4 separate regions of the Homo sapiens genome follow, and regions 2, 3 and 4 are each linked to region 1. The links are contacts of gene promoters, found by promoter capture Hi-C in human tissues and cell types (Jung and others, 2019). All regions are on one chromosome and are shown on one strand. Each heading gives the region's core, a stretch centred on a gene start or on the middle of the fragment in contact. The rest is flanking DNA. Distances are from core to core; before and after follow the strand shown. Region 1 holds the start of GJB6 (gap junction protein beta 6). Region 2 holds the start of XPO4 (exportin 4). Region 3 overlaps XPO4 (exportin 4). Region 4 overlaps EEF1AKMT1 (EEF1A lysine methyltransferase 1).

Region 1 (3,329 bases), core at 409-2,908:
CTGTTTATAATCCCCAAAGAAGTTTACAATCTGCTTAGAAAAATTATTTTACTATGCAAACAGCTGAGCCTGGCTGAAGCATCTGTTTGGGAGAGGAATGGAGAGAAGACTGGGAAGTCCACAGTTAGATTGTGTGGGGCAGGACAGAGCACCCAAGATTTACCGCATAGGGCACATCTGGGCAGTGTGAGGATGTCTAACAAAAAAGCCTAGAGATGCTCGGCGCGGTGGCTCACGCCTGTAATCCCAGCACTTTGGGAGGCTGAGGCAGGTGGATCACCTGAGGTCAGGAGCTCCAGACCAGCCTGGCCAACATGGTGAAACCCAGCTCTACTAAAAATACAAAACCTAGCCAGGCATGGTGGTGCGGGCCTGTAATCCCAGCGACTCGGGAAGCTGAGGCAGGAGAATCACTTGAACCCGGGAGGCAGAGGTTGCAATGAGCTGAGATCACACCACCACACTCCAGCCTGGGCAACAGAGCCAGACTTAGTCAAAATAAATAAATAAATAAATAAATAAATAAATAAATAAATAAATTTAAAAAGCCTAGAGATTTCTGTGTCTCTCCACTCTCCAAGTTCAAGGCCATTTCAGGGGCCTCCCCAAAGTTTTTAAAACTTGACTTGGGCAAATTCTTTAAGAACCTTGTTCTCCTCAAATAAAATATTTTGGAAAGCGGATTTTTATGAAGTCTTGGCTCAAATTCCATGACCTTTAACAGACATCTTAATTGTTTCGTGGGAGAATATGACCCAACAAGTGGCATATGGTTTAGGTGGGGACGTTTAATTACCGAACAGTTTTGTAGAATAAGCAAGTCACACATCTTTTGTCCGATGCGTGACAGGTTTGAACCTGTAAAGCCAGGTGCCTAAATAGCTTCCAACGTTTCCACCCCACCAGCCCTTGCACCACTCCCTGTACTGGCCCTGAGCTTTCTAGTCTTGACTGAAAAGCGGGGAGGCAATGTGGTCTCTCCTGGTGCACTGTCCCGAGGAAGGCCTGCTCCGCTTCCCCGGAGGAGTCTTCAAAGGATGGAGGTAATTAATAAAAACAACCCCTGTACCTCCTCTAAGTGGTCATTAATTAATAAAGAACCTCCAGGCTCCTATAGGAGAGGTCTGTGCACCCCGCGGGCTATGAGAAGGCTGGATCACCCAGAAAGACTGAGGATGTGTCCTGGCAAAAACACAGCCTGCCCCTCACACTGCTCCCCACGGGTGCACTAGGGAGGAAGAGTTCCCTCGAGGGCCTGAGCAGGCGCCCCACACCTGCACCCGTGCAGAGGGGGCTGGGCCCGCCCTCTGCGCTCCCGAGGGAGAGCCCTACCCCCTGCATCCCCGGTACCCCGTTCCCTCCAAGGGCCGGAAAGAGGGCCCCGCGCACTGTGCACTTCTTAGGGGTCCCCCACCCTGCGCCCCCGCCACGGGAAAAAGGTCCCCGCTCTGCGCATCCGGCCCCGGAGGGACAGCCCCGGTCCTGCACTCCTTGCTCCTCAGGGGGACGGTCCGCGCCCAGCGGCTAGTGCGCCCCGGGTAGGTGGGGGCGGGGGGCTCGTCGAGTGACAGCGCTCGCCTCCCGCAGCCCGCCCGAGCCGCGTCAGGGCAGAGGCGGGGTGGGGCGCGGTTAAAAGGCGCAGCAGGTGGGAGCCGGGGCCTTCACCCGAAACCCGACGAGAGCCCGACAGCCGGCGGCGCCCGAGCCCGACCTGCCTGCCCAGCCGGAGCGAAGGGCGCCGCCCCGCGCAGAGCCCGCGCCAGGGCCGCCGGCCGCAGAGCAGGTAAGCGGGCGCGGACCGGCTGGGTCTTGCGGGGGGCGAGCGGGCGGTGCCACCTCGGCCCCCCAGCGGAGGAATTTCCTCCAAGAAAACAAAACAGGTGAGGTCGGCGGCTGGTCCCCACCTCGCCCCTGTCGCTCCTGTCTGGCACCGGATCAGAGCCGGCAGAGCGCGGCCGGGATGGGTGTCTGGCCGCACGTGGGGCGACCGGGCCCCCGATCTGCCTCTATCCGCACCCTCCTGTCCACGCGCCCCGGCCCCGGCCCGATGGCAGTGGGCGCCGCCCGCGCTGGACCCTCTCTCTGTACGCAGAGGAACGAGGATGGACTGGTTTGACTTTTACCCCAGCGTGGTCCCCTTTGACTTGTACAACAGGTTTTATGAAGGTTTCATATCGTGTGTCTAAGAGGCCAGAGTGAGGGCCGGTGCCCCTTTCCCCCGTTTCATTTGCTGCGTGTTGGATTTTCTAAGCTTTTGTGGGTCACCGGGGTGTCCCCTTGGATTTGGGGAGAAGAAAGCCAGGTCTAGGATGCGGGTTTCAGTTCAGACAAACCCTCAACTTGGGCCGATGCATAAGTCCCCGGAGAACCGCAGGGTATGGGCTGCGTGATGGGCTTCCGAGAAACTTGTGAAATGCTGATGACAATAGCGTGGACGACAGTAATTAAAAGTAATTGGCGACACATCTTAGTTAAAACGTGCAGGCACCAGAAGGCACTTCCTGTCGGTGAAGAAGACCTGTCTCCGGTGTCACGGGCATCCTGTGTTTTGCAAACGGGGCTGACCTCCCTTCCTGGGGAGCAGGAAGGGTCAGGGTGAGTGTGGCCTGCCCGCAGCTCTGCACTCCCGGAGGGGTTAGGGACCTGCAACCAGGCGGGGACACTGGCCCAGCGACCTCAGTGTCCCCTGGGTGGGCGTGCACTCTGTTTAGTGTCTGATTGAACGTAACCGTGCCGGGTTGTTCTTTTCCCTCAAGTAGACTTTATGCCATACAGCTATTTTCTTGCCCCAGTTCTAGCAGAATCTAACCAGTGTTCTAGAAGAAAATGTCCTGCCCCCATGCAGTCTCCTTAGAATTGCAGGGTGCTGCTCAGAACTGCTCCTGTGGAGAGCTTTGTCTGTTGTTTGGATCCAGCAGCGTCTTTGGGGGTGTTGCTTGAAGCTTGCCAAGGAGGAGAGGGGGGTTCTGAAGAGAGAACACCAGGGCTCTAGCCTGTCACATAACTGGGGGTGTGGAGAGCGCCTCATTGCCACTGCAGTGACTAAAGCTGGGAAGACGCTGGTCAGTTCACCTGCCCCACTGGTTGTTTTTTAAACAAATTCTGATACAGGTAATGATGACTTTATGCTTTTTTTCTTATGTCTTCTCTTCTGAATTCTGAGTGTTAGGAAGGAAAAGAAGTACAGAAGATCTGGCTAAACAATTTCTGTATGGCGAAAGAAAAATTCTAACTTGTACGCCCTCTTCATGCATCTTTAATTCAATTTGAATATTCCAGGTGCTGTGAGCAGTTTGCATATATTAGTTTAAATGTTAAATGGGATAAAA
Region 2 (3,329 bases), core at 548-3,047, 670 kb before region 1:
CTGTTGCAGTGACATAAAACCTCAACAGTATGGCTTTCTTATAACTAGGAATAAGAAACAGGAAGATTTCAACAAAAAATAAACTTAAAAATACTGAAACGAATTTGACTGTCTGTGTTGTTTCAGAAGGCTGAATAAGCACCAAAAAGAAGTTATAGGAATGTAGACCGTAGATGTCAGCTCAAAACGAAACAAACCCCTGATCCGAACAACCTAACAGCACTGGTTTGAATACTGAAACAGCTGTCAGGACCACTTGCGTGGAATGTCCTAGAGGCAACTGGAGCACCGGAGGGAAGGTTAATTACTTGATACTCTAATATGCCTTTCAACACGGATTCCACAAACACGACAATGCTGATTTTTGTCCTTTTTTTTTTTTTTCCTGAGACAGGATCAGCCTCTCACCCAGGCTGGAGTGCCGTGGTGTGATCTCGCCCCACTGCACTCTCGACCTCCTGGGCAATCCTTCCGCTTCAGCCTCCCGAGAAGCTCGGACCACAGGCGCAAGACACCACACCGGGCTTTTTTTTTTTTTTTTTTTGGTAGAGACAGGGTCTCACGATGTTGCCCAGGCTGGTCTCGAACTCCTGAGCTAAAATGAGGCCTGCCTTGGCCTCCCAAAGTGCTGGGATTACAGGCATGAGCCACAGCGCCTGGCCGACAAAGCTCATCTTACTGCATTTGAGAAGCCAGGTAGTCAAGGTCAGGCTTTCCTGTCCCTGCTTTCTCCCTCTCCTATGTGAGCCAGCCCTTAAAGAGTGAAAACGGCAAGAGCCAAAGACGGGTTTTCCTCCTAGGGTCTCCTAGCGACCCGCTGCCCAGATACATTTGGATGATTGTCCTGCAGAAGGCCAAAGCCCTCCATTATGAAAACGAAGCGTTCGGCCGGGGGCGGTGGCTCACGCCTGTAATCCCAGAACTTTGGGAGACCGAGGCGGGCGGATCACCTGAGGTCAGGAGTTCGAGACCAGCCTGGCCAACATGGTGAAACTTCGTCTCTACTAAAAGTACAAAAATTAGCCGGGCGTGGTGGCGGGCGCCTGTAATCCCAGATACTCAGGAGGCTGAGGCAGGGGAATCGCTTGAACCCGGGAGACGGAGGTTGCAGTGAGCCGAAATAGGGCCATTGCACTCCATCCTGGGCGATAGAGTGAGACCCTGTCTCCAAAAAAAAAAAAAAAGAAAGAAAGAAAACGAAGCGTTCTATCCTGGAATGTTCTCCCATGGCAAGAAGGAACAGAGAAGCAGGAGACAGAGATACTTTGAAAGGAGGTGCGCTCTGAGGAGGGGAAAGCGGGAAGAGCGATTCCAAGTTTAGGAAATCCTGCACGGCGCTGGAGCGTGGAAGGGCAAGGAGGAGCCAGGGGAGGCGGTGTGCAGGGCTGAGAACGGAGGGAGCGAACTGGCGTCGTGGATCTGCGGGTCCCCGGGCGGGCTGTACTAGGGTAGTGGGGAGAGGGCCGGGGGCACCGCGAGGCCGGGGCGCCGGACACCACGCATGCGCGGGGCTGGGAGCTTAGCGGGGCGCGCGGCTGCAGCAGTCTGGGCAGACCGCCTCGGCCTCGCCCGGTGCCGGCTGCGGCCGCCCCCGCCCCAGCGCGGCGGCCGGGCTCACACTAGTCCCCTCCCAGCCACCCGGAACCCGGCAGCCCGGCCAGACCCGCCGAGGCCGCGACGCCGGTGTCGACAGCGGCTGCGACGGCCCTGGGAGCGCGTGAGGCTCCGGGGTCGCGGCGGCGATTGGCCGGCCGCGGCGCCCGCTCCCAGAATGCAGCGCATGGCGCGTCATTGAAGAGAGACCATGATGGCGGCGGCGCTGGGGCCCCCAGAAGTGATCGCTCAGCTGGAGAACGCGGCTAAAGTTCTGATGGTGAGGACGCCGCGCCCCTCAGACCCCGGGATTCGCGGGCCCCCGGTCGGCCCTGCCACTCCAGGCCTTGCTGCTCGCTGGGCTGGCGACTGGCAAGGGCCTGCAGGGAGCCTGGAAGTGGAGGAGGAGGTGGCGGTGGCGTGGCGCAGGATTCTTCAGCCTACTTTCCTCCTGCCGTCGTCCCCTCCTTCCAGGAGCTGTCCCCTTCCCCTGGCTGCCCAGCACCCCAGTCGGGCGTGGGAATATAGTGGTGTAGCAAAGAGAATTTCTTCACCTTACACCCTGCCCCACAGACTGGGTCGCAGAGCAAGGCGCCGGGAAGGAGTTGGGGTTATCCCCGCAGGGCTTCGGTAGGGGAAATTTGTAGGGCTGTGTGAGCGCTCTTGGGGAGTTGGTGTCGGGAGGGATTGGATGGCACAGCCTGGGTGCTGTTAGCAACCCTTGTTTCCTGTGCATTCGCATCCTCTAGCGCTTCCCTGACATGCAGCCACCTCTGGAGTAATTGCAGCCGGCAGCACGTGGAAGGGCCGGGCCGGCTGGAGGGAGGGAGGGGAATCGTTGAGACCAAGGTCATTGGGGCAAAACTTGGTCTAGTGCTAAGCTCCTTAAAGCTCCCGCGATTTGGAGAACTGAGTCTATGCTACTCTTTGACTTCATGCTTACACTACAATAAGCAGTTTGATGAGATTGTTTACTAAGGGAATTTGAGAAGGCCGAGTCAAAGGATAAAAGTATTACATGCAAGGAGGAGAAGTAAGGATAAACTACGTTCAGTTAGTAAACAGTGTTTCTATTTGCTGGCTCAGCTTTGTTTTTGCAAATTATGACTTCGGTGTTTGTAGATGTTTTGGGAAGTTAGAGGTTCATTTGATACCTGGATTGATTCAGACTTTCTAAGAATTGGATACAGCCAGCTTTGTTACCTTTTTGGACTTTTTTCCTTTTGGTTTGGTGTTAGGGTGTTTGAGCATCACATTTGAGAATATTCGAACTAATTCTAGCGTAGTTTGTAGTTCTAATATTTTACACCAGATATTTTTGTTTCTTTAGAAATCGAGAAGTCTAATAAAAGCAGGATTTACTTGCTTCATTATGAATATTAACTTAATGTACGTTTTGTCACAAAACAGACTAGTGAAGGTTTTCACACTTTTGCAAATTAAGCAGAAGTAACTAGCTAGTATTCCCCTTAATAAAAGATTCTTAAAAATCCCTGACATAGAGCGTTTTGTAAAATTCCTGAAATTTTCCTAGGAGCTAGGGGCTCCGTTTTCATTGGATTCTGGAAGGAGTATGCCACCCAAAACACGGCTGTAGTTCTTACACTGATCAGGTAAAATCAGTGTCCTTCGTCACTGGCTTAATATAAACTAGTATTTGTGTTTTCCAATATCTTCCCTCTTCCCTGGCAAAGCTGCTTTTATCCCCTATAAGGAGTAGGTGAGAAGAATAGTAG
Region 3 (3,329 bases), core at 437-2,936, 590 kb before region 1:
ACCAGGTTGGGGATGTGTGGTGAAGTTGAGGGCTAATGGGGTGGCCCAGGCATGGTGACTTTCTTAAGAGTAAACCTCCTAAATGTCATCTCAACCTCAAGCGGTTTCCGTTGTATCTTCTGTATGCTGGGAGTAGAGGACCAGGGGAGTATACAGCTAATACCAGAAATATAGGAACAAATCCAGCCAAACCAAATTGGACCTCTGGGACAGAAACCATTTCATCTTTTGTTTTCTTGGGCACCCAGTAATTGTAGTAATAGTACATAATACGTAGTTGTCCTGAGATGGAAAAGTATATAAAGACATGATCTTTTTTTTTTTGAGATGGAGTCTCGCTCTGTCGCCCAGGCTGGACTGCGATGGCACGGTCTTGGCTCACTGCAACCTCTGCCTCACAGGTTCAAGCGATTCTTCTGCATCAGCCTCCCGAGTAGCTGGGATTACAGGCATGCGCCATCACGCCCGGCTAATTTTTGTATTTTTAGTAGAGACGGGGTTTCACCATGTTGGCCAGGCTGGTCTCAAACTCCTGACCTCGCAGTCCACCCACCCCAGCCTCCCAAAGTGCTAGGATTACAGGTGTGAGCCACCGCGCCTGGCCAAGACATGATCTTTTAAGTAAAATTTGAAAAATTGAGGCATATTAAAGATATGAGTTTGGGAGTTAACATGGGATGAAAAGATGATGAACTTTTGAGGGAGACTGCACAGTTACAGGCCAGGCAGTCATGAAGAGCAAGAGTTCAAGCAAGCTGCTTCACTTTTTTTTGGAGCATGTTAGCTTATTGGTAAAGTCAGGGTATGAATTCCTTCTACTGCTTTATGACGTGGATTAACTGCATGAAAAGTACCTGTATAGGCCGGGCTCAGTGGCTCACGCCTGTAATCCCAGTACTTTGGGAGACTGAGGCAGGCGGATTGCCTGAGGTCAGGAGTTCGAGACCAGCCTGCCAAACATGGCAAAACCCCTTCTCTACTTAAAAATATAAAAAATTAGCCGGGCATGGTGGCGGGCGCCTGTAATCCCAGCTACTTGGGAGGCTGAAGCAGGAGGATCTCTTGAACCCGAGAGGCGGAGGTTGCAGTGACCCAAGATCACACCACTGCACTCCAGCCTGGGTGACAAGAACGAAACTCCATCTCAACAAAAAAACAAAGGGGAGGGGGAGGGGGACGTGTATAGTGTACAATAATTTATTACAAGCAATAACATGTAGAATAATTTTTTAAAATGAGCCTTTAAAATAATAGCTTTTATTGAAAACCTGTGTGCACTCTTACCACATAAGAACAACTGTTGAGTTTTGTTTGGTGCAAACTAATTATAATTCTAATTTTTTAAAATTATTTTTTAAATGATTTTTATAATTGTAATTTTGTGAAATATTGAAAGCTTCTTTTTCCAGTAGGAAAACAGGTTCCACATGTAAGACTTTGTTTTACTGTGAGAATACTTTTTTCAGAGCTGTGTTTGTTTAGGAATATATACAGATTATCATCTTTTTTAATAGCAATTCATGTCTTTGATGGTGGTAACGTTGTGTAGCAAGGGAAGAAGAGCATCTTCATAGGAAGAAGCATTCTTGATACCAGTGTGTGTTTTTGAAACCCATGTCATAAAGCCACCTTGCTGGGTGGCTTTAGCATGTGAGTGAAGAGACATATTTATGAGTACTCTGACTTGCAGTTAACTGAGAGTCTGTGTTCACAAAGAGCAATTCTGGTATTCAGCCAAGTTTCTCTGTGGCTGCAGAAGTTTCTTGATATTATTTGAGACTTTTTGGAGATAAGAATTTTTTCATTATACCCAGAAATCAAATTATTATCTATTGCTGAACTGAAGAGGTAAGAATGAATGTGGAGATGAAAAAGTATTGCCTTAAAGATTAAAATCCTGCTGGGCTTGGTGGCTCACGGCCGTACCTTGGGAAGCTGAGGTAGGCAGATCACCTGAGGTCGGGTGAGGAGACCAGCCTGGCCAACACATCGAAGCTCCGTCTCTACTAAAAATACAAAAATTAGCCAGGCATGGTGGCACACTCCTGTAATCCCAGCTACTGAGGAGGCTGAGACAGGAGAATTACTTGAACCCGGGAGGCAGAGGTTGCAGTGAGCTGAGATCATGCCACTGCACTCCAGCCTGGGTAATACAGCAAGGCTTTGTCTCAAAAAAAGATTAAAATTCTATCAATAATTGTTCATATTAATACAACAGCTGTTTTATAAAAGATTTATAATAGTAGATGCATTTGAATTGTTTCAGTGAAATTCAAGGAGAATATGACTAGAACTGTATACTCTAGTTTGTTTCTTGGTTTCTTTTATAATTAACCATTTTGAGTTCAGCCAAGTAGGTGAAGCTGTGCAGTATGTTGCTACAGGAACAGAGCAGCCTTCATAGCATTGAGGTATTTTGTATATGCATTTTGATGTATGTGTTGTGTATAAGGGCAATCGTGGTAAATAACAATTTATAAAGGAAGAACCTTACATCTAGTTTTAGTATATTTGTAGCCTAATCTCAAGACCAGCAGGACAAGGTAGTAAAGAAAAAGGTACTTGATAAAGTTTTTAGGAAGTTGATTATAGAATGTAATGCAATAAAATAAATTTGCAATTTGTCAAGTGAGTGAGTGTATTTAGAGGTCAGCATTCTTGATTCAGAATTTAATTTCTCTGGCTTGTTGGGTAATTACTTTGTAGTGAGGTTATGTGACAAAAAGGAAGCCATAAATTGAAGCCAAATTACAGATTGAGAAGTGGGGAGCATAAATTTTGGGATATCTCAGTGATAAGAGGGAAAACAATACTTATTCTCTGGATGGTTGTGTCCGTACAGTGTAACTGTGTAGTCTACCTTGCACCTTCACCCATGAAAGGATGGATTGTTTGAAGATCCTTGCCAACATCCCCACCAAACGGTTCTTGTAGCTATAAAAGAATAAACTGATGATACTGGAGAGAGCAAGCTGGCTGTCCAGCGCCCCCCACCCATCAAGCACATTCATTTCCTCTGCTTAAAAGATAGAATTAAATCCATGAGTATTTTTTAAAGCTTGCACATTAAAAGTATACTTTTTAGAAATAATAACAATAGTTTTAGCTCTACCAGGATATTTGGAAGAAAACTAGTTACTATTTTACCTTAAATACAGATTCGTATTAAAAGAAGTGTTTTAAGAATTGTTTTAATGTTTTAATTCTAATTGGATGATAACCATGTAATATTTCATGACTTGTATGAGTCAGCTCTGATTGTTTAAATCTGCTTTACCAATCCTAGTGCAGAACCAGTGTTAAGTTTCACAGAATTCTTGCACCTTTAG
Region 4 (3,329 bases), core at 615-3,114, 530 kb before region 1:
AAAAACTTATTTTTTAAAAGAGATCAATAAAATTGATGAACCTTTAGTAAGAAAAAAGAGAAAACAGAAATTACTGACATTAGGAATGAAATGGGGGATATCAGTACAGATCCTAAAGACATTAGAAATAATTGAGGACTGCTATAAACATCTCTATCCAGATAAATTTTAACAACTTAGATGAAGCAGACCAATTCGTTGAAACTACAAACTACGAGAACTCACCCCATATGAAACTGATAATGTGAATAGCCGTGTAAGTATTAAATTGAATTTGCAGTTAAAGGCCTCTCATACAAGAAATTTTCAGGCCAGGCATGGTGGCTCATGCCTGTAATCTCAGCAGTTTGGGAGACCTAGGCGGGCAGATCACCAGAGGTCAGGAGTTTGAGACTGGCCTGGCCAACATGGTGAAACTCCATCTCTACTAAAAATGCAAAAATTAGCCAGGGTGGGTGGTAGGCACCTGTAATCCCAGCTATTTGGGAGGCTGAGGCTGGAAAATCGCTTGAACCCAGGAGGCGGAGGTTGCCGTGAGCTGAGATCGAGCCATTGCACTCCAGCCTGGGCGACAATAGCAAAATTCTGTTTCAAAAAAAAAAAACAAAAATTTCGGGCCTTAAATGCTAGGGATGCTATAACAAAATACCGTAGACTGGGTGGCTAAAAGTAATGGCAGAAACAGCAATTACCTTTGCACCAACCTAGCATCTCCAGATATAATTACAATGAGGGTTAAGGCTTTAACATATAAATGGGGTGCAGGGTGGGAGGGGGGTGGTGTGTCAATTGAATCCATAGCACATGATTTCACTGAAAAAAATTACCAAATGTTTATTGCGTTAGCACTGATTGTACACAGTCTTTTCCAGAAAATAGAAGAGGAGACATTTCTAGTTTATTTGATGAGACCAATATTACCTTGTTACCAAAACCAAAGACAATACAAAGACCGAAAACAATAGACAAATATACCTCATGAAGATAGGTGACGAAATCCTCAGCAAAATATTAGTAAATATGATTTAGCAATACATAAGAAGAATCAGTTAAGTGGAACCTATTCCAGGAATGTGAGACTGGTTTAATAGATAATCAGTTTAATTTATATCATGAGGTTAAAGAAAAATCACATGATCGTATAAGTTGATATCAAAAAGTTATTTGAAAATTCAACACCCATTCATGATGAAACTTGGCAAACTACTAATAAAGGGAATGTCCTCATCTTAACATAGAACATCTACACCCTGGGTGTAGTGACTCACACCTGTAATCCCAGCACTTTCGGAGGCTGAGGCAGGAGGAACACTTGAGCTCAGGAGTTTGAGACCAGCCTGGGCACCAGAGTGGGACCCCATCTCTACAAAAAATAAAAATGTTAGCCGGGCATGGTGGCGCATGCCTGTAGTCCCAGCTGCTTGGGAGGCTGAGGTGGAAAGATCACTTGAGCCCAGAAGGTTGTGGCTGCATCATATTTAATGGTGAAAGATTGAATGCTTTCCCACTTAAAATCTGGGACAAGTGTAGGATATCTGCTCTTATCACTCCTATTCAGCTCACTAGAAGTCCTGGCCAGGCACGATGGTTCATGCCTGTAATCCCAGCACTTTGGGAGGCCGAGGTGGGCGGATCACTTGAGGTTAGGAGTTCGAAACTAGCCTGGCCAACATGTGAAACCCCATCTCTACTAAAAATGCAAAAAAATTTAGCTGGGCGTGGTGGCAGGTGCCTGTAATCCCAGCTACTGGGGATGCTGCTGAAGCAGGGAGAATCGCTTGAACCCAGGAGGTGGAGGTTGCAGTGAGCCAAGAATGCACCACTGCACTCCAGCCTGGGCAACAGAGCAAGACTCTGCCTCAAATTAAAAAAAAAAAAAAAAAAAAGACTGATGAAATACATCAAAGATGAACTAAATAAATGGAGAGATGTGCCATGTTTTATGGATTGGAAGACCCCGAAAAATAAAGGTTCTCGTTCTGTTACCCAGGCTGAAATACAGTGGTATGATCTTGGCTCACTGCATCCTATGCCTCCAGACTCAAGTGATCCTCCCACCACAGCCTCCCATGTAGCTGGGTCTACAGGCACATGCCATCACACTCAGCTAATTTTTAAAAACATTTTTGTAGAGACAAGGTCTCACTGTATTGCCCAGGCTGCTCCTAGGCTCAAGTGATCCTCCTGTCTCAGCCTCCCACATTCCACCTGAATTATACACTTTAAATAGATGAATTGTATGGTATATGAATTAGATCTCAATACAAATGTTTTAAAATTTGCACATTTCACTTCAATAGGCATTTCAAAAACAACTACATGACTGCAAAGAGAATCCTGACTTCTCTGGCCACAGTAAACCTCATAGTACAGGGATTCAGTTCTTCATTTGATGAAACCCTCTTATAATGTATCATCATGAAATAAATTTTTTGATGTCCTCAAAATAAACACACTCTAACCATAAAATCCAACATCATACTCTTGAGCATTTATCCAGAGAAATGAAAATGAAAATTCCTATACATTTTACAGGAATGTTCACAACAGCTCTATTTGTAATACCTTAAAATTGGAAACAACCCAAATGTTTTAGTGGGTGAATGGTTAAGTGTGGCCATACTATGGATTACTACTCAGCAATAAAAAGGAATAAACTATTGATACACAGAACAACCTGGGTAAATTTTAAACCATGCTGAGTGAAAATGACAATCTCAAGTTATATAATGTATGATTCCATTTATCTAAAGTGACAAAATTATTGAAACGGAGAACAAATGCTTTCCAGGGGTTAAGAATGGAGATTGAGGTGGGAGAGGATGGGAATGACTTTAAAAAGGTAGTACAACTCATCTCTTTGGTGCTGGAATATTCTGTCTCTTATCCATGGAAGTGTTTTCATGAATCTACACGTGATATCATTATATAAAACTATACACATGTGCATACGCCTGCAAATAAATGTGTGTAAAACTGGTGAACTGCACGAGCTCTGTGGATTGTACTGTTCATTTCCTGGTTTGACAATGCACTGTAGTTATATAAGTTACTACCATTGTGGAAAAATAGGTGGAAGGATACATGGGATGGACCTTCATTATTTTTGCACATTCCTGTGAATCTGTGATTATTTCAGAGTAGAAAGCTTAGGAATGAGAATTGGTGTAGAAAAATAGAAATATTTATGTCCAAATTATCAGATTCTTTTCCAAAAGATTATGCCAATTTAAATTGTTATCTAAATTAGAGAGTATACCAATATCACTACCTTCTCATCAGCATTAAGTGTGTCCATTATTTTGATGTTTTATCTGTGTATTCTTTTT

Evidence for each region. The method cuts DNA at HindIII sites, captures the fragments that hold promoters and counts their contacts. A contact is called where the count stands out against the background at its distance.
Region 2: the fragment with the promoter of XPO4 here is called in contact with the fragment with the promoter of GJB6 in region 1 in 2 of the 25 tissues and cell types used here (IMR-90 fibroblasts and mesenchymal stem cells).
Region 3: a fragment that was not itself captured here is called in contact with the fragment with the promoter of GJB6 in region 1 in 3 of the 25 tissues and cell types used here (hippocampus, mesendoderm cells and thymus).
Region 4: a fragment that was not itself captured here is called in contact with the fragment with the promoter of GJB6 in region 1 in 2 of the 25 tissues and cell types used here (H1 embryonic stem cells and mesendoderm cells).

Annotation. Positions count from the first base shown.
Region 1 is chr13:20,230,648-20,233,976 of GRCh38, reverse strand. It overlaps GJB6 (gap junction protein beta 6), which reads left to right and starts at 1,658. Exons shown (of 5, transcript NM_001110219.3): 1 at 1,658-1,783; 2 at 2,472-2,595; 3 at 3,170-3,279. The HindIII fragment of the contact is 5,298 bases long and covers 1-2,597 here.
Region 2 is chr13:20,901,214-20,904,542 of GRCh38, reverse strand. It overlaps XPO4 (exportin 4), which reads left to right and starts at 1,797. Exons shown (of 23, transcript NM_022459.5): 1 at 1,797-1,873. The coding sequence starts at 1,805. RefSeq lists a silencer at 1,395-1,774 and an enhancer at 1,985-2,034. The HindIII fragment of the contact is 40,685 bases long and covers 1-3,329 here.
Region 3 is chr13:20,816,655-20,819,983 of GRCh38, reverse strand. All of the region lies in intron 9 of XPO4 (exportin 4), which reads left to right. Among named protein-coding and RNA genes, the nearest start is that of EEF1AKMT1, 44 kb to the right of the region's middle. The HindIII fragment of the contact is 5,973 bases long and covers 1-3,329 here.
Region 4 is chr13:20,760,733-20,764,061 of GRCh38, reverse strand. The region is part of intron 1 of EEF1AKMT1 (EEF1A lysine methyltransferase 1); the gene reads left to right. Among named protein-coding and RNA genes, the nearest start is that of EEF1AKMT1, 12 kb to the left of the region's middle. The HindIII fragment of the contact is 7,304 bases long and covers 1-3,329 here.